Linked DNA regions of Homo sapiens: region 1 is linked to region 2. Evidence: promoter capture Hi-C in 16 types of primary human blood cells and fetal thymus (Javierre and others, 2016). All regions are on one chromosome and are shown on one strand. Each heading gives the region's core, a stretch centred on a gene start or on the middle of the fragment in contact. The rest is flanking DNA. Distances are from core to core; before and after follow the strand shown. Region 1 overlaps CCT2 (chaperonin containing TCP1 subunit 2). Region 2 holds the start of XPOT (exportin for tRNA).

What was found. Contacts are between HindIII fragments. The CHiCAGO score rates a contact against its expected background, and 5 or more counts as called.
Region 1: a contact is called between a fragment that was not itself captured here and the fragment with the promoter of XPOT in region 2, in 1 of 17 cell types (total CD4 T cells). The highest score is 5.7, in total CD4 T cells.

What each region holds. Positions count from the first base shown.
Region 1 is chr12:69,588,502-69,592,795 of GRCh38, reverse strand. It overlaps CCT2 (chaperonin containing TCP1 subunit 2), which reads right to left. Exons shown (of 16, transcript NM_006431.3): 7 at 3,109-3,311; 8 at 637-737. Among named protein-coding and RNA genes, the nearest start is that of CCT2, 5.2 kb to the right of the region's middle. The HindIII fragment of the contact is 2,196 bases long and covers 888-3,083 here.
Region 2 is chr12:64,402,643-64,407,192 of GRCh38, reverse strand. It overlaps XPOT (exportin for tRNA), which reads right to left and starts at 2,801. Exons shown (of 25, transcript NM_007235.6): 1 at 2,389-2,801. RefSeq lists enhancers at 1,203-2,079, 3,177-3,226 and silencers at 2,187-2,296, 2,627-2,786. The HindIII fragment of the contact is 10,073 bases long and covers 1,125-4,550 here.

The DNA of each region.
Region 1 (4,294 bases), core at 736-3,235, 5.2 Mb before region 2:
CCACCACACCCAGCTAATTTTTGTATTTTTAGTAAAGACAGGGTTTCACCATCTCACATTGGTCAGTCTGGCCTTGAACTCCTGACCTTGTGATCCGCCCGCCTGGCCTCCCAAAGTACTGGGATTACAGGCGTGAACCACCACGCCAGGCCTCATTACTCTTTTTAAAGAGTCCCATAGCATATTTCAACATTTTTACCAACGTATATATATGTGTATATACACAATAGATTCATACCTATTCCAAGCTTTTTAGTGCAATTGATTCCTGAGTTTATAGAATCCAGCAATTTTTTTTTTTTTGAGACTTTTGAGACGGAGTTTCACTCTTGTTGCCCAGGCTCGAGTGCAGTAGCACAATCTCGGCTCAGTGCAACCTCCGCCTCCTGGGTTCAAGTGATTCTCCTGCCTCAGCCTCCCGAATAGCTGGGATTACAGGCATGCGCCACCATGCCCAGCTAATTTTGTATTTTTTTTTTTTTAGTAGAGACAGGGTTTCTCCATGTTGGTCAGGCTGGTCTCAAACTTCTGATCTCAGATGATCCACCACCTTGGCCTCCCAAATTGCTAGGATTACAGGCATGAGCCACTCTGCCTGGGCAGTAATTTTAATTTTTAAAAAGTAGAGTTACATACCTTTATTTTGTCTGTATCCATACCAGTATTTGCAATAAGAATTTTAGCATTTTCAATTCGTTTTGGTTGATTTACTCCAATTTTTTTATCCAACAGGAAGCCTACAATAAATATAAGAACAGTATCATATTTAATACTTCAAAGCAGCCTTAGTAAATCTTATAAAAAGCTGTCTGCTTTATCATATCACTGTTTCAAAGAAGCTATTTAAGTCCAATTTACCAAGCTCTTAGAAGGCATAAAAGCAAGCTTGTCCAACCTGCCTTATTCTGTTGTTGTTTTGCTTTTAGGCTTTTAGCGCCTGAAAGCCATGGATTTTAGTTTCTGTCTCTAGTGATAAGCAGAAAAGAGGGAGGAGGAAGGGGCTTTACCGACCCAACCAGAAACAGAAACTAGGAACCCATGACTGTATTCTCTTCCTTGGACACTTCTGGTATAAAGCATCCCACTAGAAGAGTTATTACAAAATCAATTTAATGGGTTACTTAAAAAATATGAAACAGAAAATATAAGAGCACAGTACAGACAATAAAATTAAACAGTATTTTGAAACTTTTGTTTCAGATATACGCTACACCCACATCTGTATGGGTTGCAATATAAAGACAATAGGTTAAGTCCTATATTTTTATTAGCTTAAAATCACCACCACAAGAGAAAAATTGAAGATTCAGGTATTGAGGCTGGTGGTAAAAATGGAAAAACCATGGACACCGTGGAGTCAGATAAATCTGACCCTGATCATGCCCCTGCTGCTGGCTATATAACCTTCGACAAATTATCCAACCAGAAATGCTAATTTGTAAAACAGGAATGTAACCAGTAGCAGAGGTGCTAGTTACCAGCCTAGTCCTGCTGCTTTGGAACCATCATACAAACCCAGTACCACCTACCTTTCTAGGCCTTTTTTTGGTTACATTAGAAACTTTTCCATTATGAAGCCACCATTATCTTGGGTTTTCTACTCTATTCAAGTGAACCTAATCCTCACTCACCAGGTCATGATGACTAAATGACTAAAGTTCCTATTACAATTCCTAGTACAGAGCAGACATTCAAGAATGGTGCTGCTTGTGCTACTAATATTCTTGTTTTAATGCTCCTTCCCTACCACCAGCCCCTATCAGAAATGCTACGCAGCGGCCAGGCATGGTGGCTCACGCCTGTAATCCCAGTACTTTGGGAGGCTGAGGCAGGTGGATCCCCTTAGGTCAGGAGTTCGAGACCAGCCTGGTCAACATGGCGATACCCCGTCTCTACTAAAAATACAAAAAAGTTAGCCAGGCATGGTGGCACACGCCTGTAATCCCACCTACTCAGGAGGCTGAGGCAGGAGAATCGCCTTAACTCAGGAGGCAGTGGTTGCAGTGAGGCGAGATCATACTGCTGCACTCCAGCCTGGGTGACACAGCCAGACTCCGTCTCAAAAAAAAAAAAAAAGAAATGCTACACAGCTCTTGTATATAAACTTAATCAAGAGTATTTTCAGAATTATGACTCTCTCTTAAAATAAATCAAGACCTATGACACAGAACAAAACCAGGACTCCAAACCACTGGTAAAAACAGAAGTTGTAAAGCACCATCTAATTCTTTTTTTTTCCTTCTCTATATAAGAATGCCTATACTTTTTGACAGGCCATTTTGTGAAGTAAATATAATGTGAAGATGATCTGGAAAACTTCACTCTAAACAAAAATGTACTACTAAGAAAGCAGTACTTATTATGTCTCATTTATCACTCTTTAAGAACTAGATCCTCTTGCCCTATAAACATACATAATTATTTGTTAAAGAAATTTTTTTTAATTCTTTTCTAAAAAAAACTAGTCATCCCCCAGTATACGAAGGGGACTGGTTCCAAGACGCCCACATACACCAAAATCCCCACATACTTAAGTTCCAGGCTGACTGGAACCAGCAGATTTGAAAAGCTGGCCCACTATATACATGGGTTTCAAATCCTGCAAATACTGCATTTTCCATCCACGTTCGGTTGCACATGTGCAAACCACGGACACAAAGGGCTGACTATATTTATTGAAAAAACCTGCATTGTGAACCTACATAATTCAAACCCATGTTGTTCAATGGTCAACTGTACATCCTCAACAACCAGCTAACACAATGATTTGACTGACCCAGACCCTTCCTGGAGAATACATATAATCCTGGTAAAAGTACCATTTGAGAATAGATGATTTCTAGTAAAAGAAAACATTTCCTCTTTATCAGAGACTGCAAATAACTTCATGGTAGTTAAGTAAACTCTAGAGATCATCAACAATGCTGGAATAGCGCGGGAAGAGGAGTACACTGTCAATAAAATGACAAAAATGGTTGCACATATGATATGTCCTTAAATTCAAGTTCACTGGCTTTGTAAAGGGTCACTGGTCTCAAAACAGAATTCACTCAGTATTCAGCCCTCAGCATCTAATCAAAGCTTCTTGTATCTGACATTCATACATACCTTCATCTAAATAGGAATCTGCCAAACTTCCTCCTAGCTTCTTGATAATATGAATTGCCTCCAGGTTGCCAGAGCCTTTCAGTCTGAGAACTGCTTCTACAGCTAACTTTGTAAAGTGGTCTTTGTGATGAGTAAGAAGTTTTGAGGATAATGTTGTGCCCGCAATATTCATTAAATCTTGACGGAATTTAACTTCATCGGAACTAAATAAAACCAACCAAATATACATATTAACCCTACTTTACTTTTCAAAATTTATCTAGATATTCATGTCAATAGATAATTTTACCCTAACTGATCAAGTCTGTAAGCTATATGAAAAGAATTAAACCTCAGCAGTAATCAAGAAACACAAATTAAAGATGTTATTTTCCCCACCAAACTGGCAAAATGCCAAAAAAAAAAGAGGGGTGGGGGCCACACAAGCATGCAAAAGTCTAATGTTGGCAAGAATGTGAGAAATGGCCGGGCACAGTGGCTCACGCCTGTAATCCTAGCACTTTGGGAGACTGAGGAGGATGGATCACTTGAGGTCAGTTCAAGACCAGCCTGAGCAACATGGTGAAACCCCATCTACACTAAAAATACAAAATTAGCTGGCTATGATGGCACATGCCTGTAGTCCCTGCTACTTGGGAGGCTGAGGCAAGAGAATCGCTTGAACCCGGGAGGCAGAGGTTGCAGTCAGCCGAAGTCGTGCCACTGCACTCCATTCTGGGCAACTCTAAGAGCGAGACTCCGTCTCAAAATAAATAAATAAATAAAAGGACGTGAAAAACAAGTATTATTATACAGTTGTGAATGGGCAAATAAATAGAAGTGCCTTAAAACAGTGGTCCCGGACCTTTTTGGCACCAGGGACTGGTTTCATGGGAAGACAATTTTTCCACCTGCTGCTCACCTGCTGTGCAGCCCAGGTTTGGGGGTGCCTTAAAACACACACACTTACCTTTGGACCCAACAATTACACTTCTAGAAACCTTTGGGCTATGTCGCAACGTCACAAAGTTATTTTATAATGCTAAAAATCATCAAATACACAAATCTCCCCCTACAGATAGGTTAATACAGTCATTCTAGCCAAATATTCAAATGTGTAACTCTATTAAAATACTGCACAGAAAATTGACATCCAAAAATGTGCTTAATATTTAACTAGGTTAAAAAGAGGCTAACAAATTCTCTA
Region 2 (4,550 bases), core at 1,552-4,051:
AAAGGGCAAGGACTGTCTTGACTATCCATCACTATGTCCCTAGGACATAGTAGAGCATAGGTTTTGGATTTCAAAGACCTGGGTTTGTATCCCCATCTTGTCATTTTTTAATTGGGGCCACTTGGACAACTTACAAAACCTGAGAGAACCCTTTCTATGACATGGGAAAAAGACCATATGCCTCATAAAGTTGTAAAGGCTTCAAAGAGATAAGGTATGCAGAGCATGGCTGGCACATAGTGAGCCCTCAATACGTTGTTTATAGTCAGAGGTAGGAACATGTGGAATGGAAACGACTTGGGGCATTCTTATACCAGATCAGCATTTTTAAAAGACAGAAAAACACAAAGAAAGGCACTGGTTCCCTTCGCCCCCTAAATGTTAAGAAAATCTGATGTCCATTCCCCTGAAAAATGCCCACAGAGAGAAAAAACGATTTCGGAGTTTCTAAGAATCCCTGATTGAGAAGTCCAATAAAAGCTTCCTTGAATTTGCTATGGCTTTTTAAAAAAATGCTGGCCAGGCAGGGTGGCTCACGCCTATAATCCCAGCACTAAGGAAGGCCGAGGGGAGGGGGGCGCAGATCAACTGAGGTCGGGAGTTCGAGACCAGCCTGACCAACATGGAGAAACCCCGTCTCTACTAAAAATACAAAAATTAGCCGGGTGTGGTGGCACATGCCTGCAATCCCAGCTATTCGGGAGGCTGAGGCAGGAGAATCGCTTGAACCCGGGAGGCGGAGGTTGCAGTGAGCTGAGATGGCGCCACCGCACTCCAGCCTGGTCAACGAGAGCGAAACTCCATCTAAAAAAAATTGCTGGCTGGGCACGGTGGCTCACGCCTGTAATCCCAGCATTTTGGGAGGCCGAGGTGGGCGGATCACGAGGTCAGGAGTTCGAGACCAGCCTGACCAACACGGTGAAACGCCGTCTCTACTAAAAATACAAAAATTAGCTGGGCATGGTGGCCTGCGCCTGTAATCCCAGCTACCCAGGAGGCTGAGGCAGAAGACTCGCATGAACCCGGGAGGGGGAGGTTGCAGTGAGCGGAGATCGTGTCATTGCACTCCCGCCTGGGCGACAGAGTGAGACACTGTGTCAAAAAAAAGAAAAAGTGCTTAAGCTTGGTCAAGTCACTCTGAAGCTATCGGGAGAAAAATGAAGTGGCCCTAAGGAAAACATAGCCAATAAACCCAAGGAAACAAACTAGTTAACAGTTGTCACTACAGAAAGAATCCCCCACATAGAAGGCATTTGGACGATCAATATGCAGTGGAAGGCCGGGCGCGGTGGCTCACGCCTGTAATCCCAGCACTTTGGGAGGCTGAGGCGGGCGGATCGCGAGGTCAAGAGATCGAGACCATCCTGGCTAACACGGTGAAACTCCATCTCTACGAAAAATACAAAAAGTAGCCAGGTGTGGCGGGGCGCACCTGTAATAGAGCTACTCGGGAGGCTGAGGCTGCAGAATCACTTGAACCTGGGAGGCAGAGGTTGCAGTGAGCCGAGATGGCACCACTGCACTGCAGCCTGGGCGACCGAGCGAGACTCCGTCTCAAAACAACAACAACAAAACCCCAAAAAATGTTTCAATACGGTAAACAATTATGCATCTTGCAAAGGTTCTTGGGGGAAGGCAAGCAACATACTTAAAATATTAAGCCTTAACTTTTCCTGGATAGCCATTAAGAATCAAACAATTTGGAAAAATTCCTCTACACCTACTGAAGACTGTTTCAAATACTACGACTGAATCTTTCCAGCCTTTTAACACCACGCTGACAAGTCGGTTTAATAAAACGTAACTCTCCCCCAACCCCCGCCCGCCACAACTAATTAGCACTTTCAAAAAGTACTCGTTTTTCTGGTTACAGGGAAACCTCATGCTTCTCTAGTCCTGCAGGATGGTGAGGAAGGTTTGAGAAGAAATGGAGCGTCCGTGCTGGCCAATTACTGCACAGAAATAACACTTTTCCTTTTTGTCCAGGGGTGGGGGAAGAATCAAGTTTGAGGTCTCCACAGTTGATAACGCTACAACGATGACTAACGGGCTTCGGAACCACAGGCGATGCCGACCCTCCTCTGCTAGCCTTGCTCCCATCCCTCCCCCGATCCCTCCCCTAAAGGAAGCCTCGTGGCAATTCGGGTGATGAAACACCAAGCAACCGCCGGCCACGCACTCGGGACGCGCTCCTCGGCGGCGGCCCCGGCTCGTACCCACCCCCACCCGGTCCGCCCAGCCAGGGGGTGCACCGCCATAGAGGGTCCCAAGCCTGCACCCTCCCTGGCGTCGGGACTCCCCCGGGCCGGTCCGCCCCGGCCAACTTCCTCGAAGCCTCACGCGGACCAAACCTGGTCCCGGTCCCGCTGCCCCCGAGCCCCGAGTCACCTTCCCTATCACTCCATCCCGCCTCCCAGCCTGCACTCCAGATGGTCAGCCAGCGGAGCGGAGCGGCGCGGCACGCAGAGAGCTGGGAGAGCGGCCCTCGTCCTTGTCGCCGTAGTCCTCCGCCACGGCCGCAGCTACAACGCCAGAGACGGTGCTGGCCGGGACCGCGCGCCTCTAGTCGCTCTGCGTCCCCTGGCACCTTCTCTTGCGTGGCGCCGGGCAGGCAGGCAGGCAGGCAAGCAAGCAAGCAAGCAAGCGGGCGGGGTCGGCGCCCCAGGAAGGGAAAGAGCGCGAGGGCCGGCTAACGCCGCCGCCGCCGCCGCAGCCGCCGCCGCCGCTGAGTCAGCGCGAAGCGCGCTCCCCGCGTCGGTGCCGCGCGGGCGGGCGCCGGCGCCAGCAGTCTCTTGGAGAGTGCGGGCGGCAGCCCGCGGGCTGACGCCGGAGGCCTACAACTCCCAGCATGCAGGGAGCGGCCGGCGCTTCCGGGCGGCGAGGCGCACACGCGCTCCCTGGCGCTCGCCGGAAGGCGTGGTCACCGGGGCTTGAGGTGCATGCCGGGATGAGGCATCCGGCCCAGGAGTCCCTACCCAGCTCCTAAATCCCCGGCTGTGTCTGCGTGGTGTCAGAGCTCAAGCGTCAGGTTCGCCCCGAGCATTCCACAAAGGGCTTCTAGTAGTTGAGAGTACGGATTCACGAATCAGGATGACGTGGTTCTAACCACGTGTGAGTCAATTTAATTGCTTGTCTACGGCCCCAAGTGTCCCGAGTACAGCAGTGTAAAGCTCTGATGAGTGCTGACAGGTTTTCAAAATTAATTAATTAATTTATTTATTTATTCTTTGAGACGGAGTCTCGCTCTGTCGCCCAGGATGGGGTGCAATGGCGAGATCTTGGCTCACTGCAACCTCCGCCTCCGGGGTTCAAGCAGTTCTCCTGCATCAGCCTCCTGAGTAGCTGGGATGACAGGCGCGCGCCACCATACCCAGCTAATTTTTGTATTTTTCGTAGAGACAGGGTTGCACCATGTTGGACAGGCTGATCTCGAACTCCTGACCTCAAGTGATCACCTGCCTCGGCCTCCCAAAGTACTGGGATTACAGGCGTGAGCCACGGTGTCCGGTCCAAAATTTATTTTAAACAGACTAAAATTTTGTCCATGAAAAGAAGGAGAGCATTCTTAGGAAGTCCTACTCACGGGATCTTTCGATGCTACTAAATGTCACTTCATTTATTTGGTCACAGATTTATTAATTTATTAATGCAACATAGAGGCAGTGTAGGCTTAGGCTGCCTCGACTTGACTGCCACTCCGCCTCCTCACTAGTTGACCTCAGGCACTTTACTTTAGTCTATCCATGCTTCAGTTTACTCGTATGTAAAATGGGGATTGTTAATAGTACCGACCTCAAAGGGTTTCTGTGAGGTTTGAGTTAATACATGTGTTTGACACACAATGTGCTCAATATTTACATTTCATTGTTGATTATTCAATGTGTACTAAATACAGACTAGGTTGCTGCCACAGACTACAAACAAAACTTGGAGAGGGAGGAATGGTAAGAGCATAGAATAAAACTAATGTTTTAACAGCTACCTTTATTTAGCTGTCCAAGACACTACACCAGGCATTTCCTATATAAAATACCTTGAATCACTCTTGCATCATGTTTCTAATTTATGTGTTTAAAATGTCAGGCTAGTGGCTACAAGATGTCGCTAAAGGAGAACTGGGTTTTAATTTTTTCTTGTTTTTAGAGAAAGGGTCTCGCTCTGTTACCCAGTCTGGAGTAGAGTGGTCATAGCTCACTGCAGCCTTGACCTCCTGGGCTCAAGCAATCCTCCTGCCTCAGCCGCCCAAGGAGCTGGGACTACGGGTGCATACCATCATACCTGGCTATTTTTGTTTGTTTTTGTAGAGATGGGGACTTGCTCTGTTGCCCAGGCTGATCTCTAACTCCCAGGCTCAAATGAACCTCCCACCTCAGCTTCCCAAAGTGTTGGAATTACGAGTGTGAGTCCCTGTGTCAGGCCTTAATTTTCTTCACGCTGCTCTCAGTTGGCTTCCCAACGAAATAGGTTCTTTGTTGTTCTGGCATACAAATTTTCTTTTGATTGTAATCCTTGCATGCATTATGTTTCTACTATTCAAATTATTAATTATT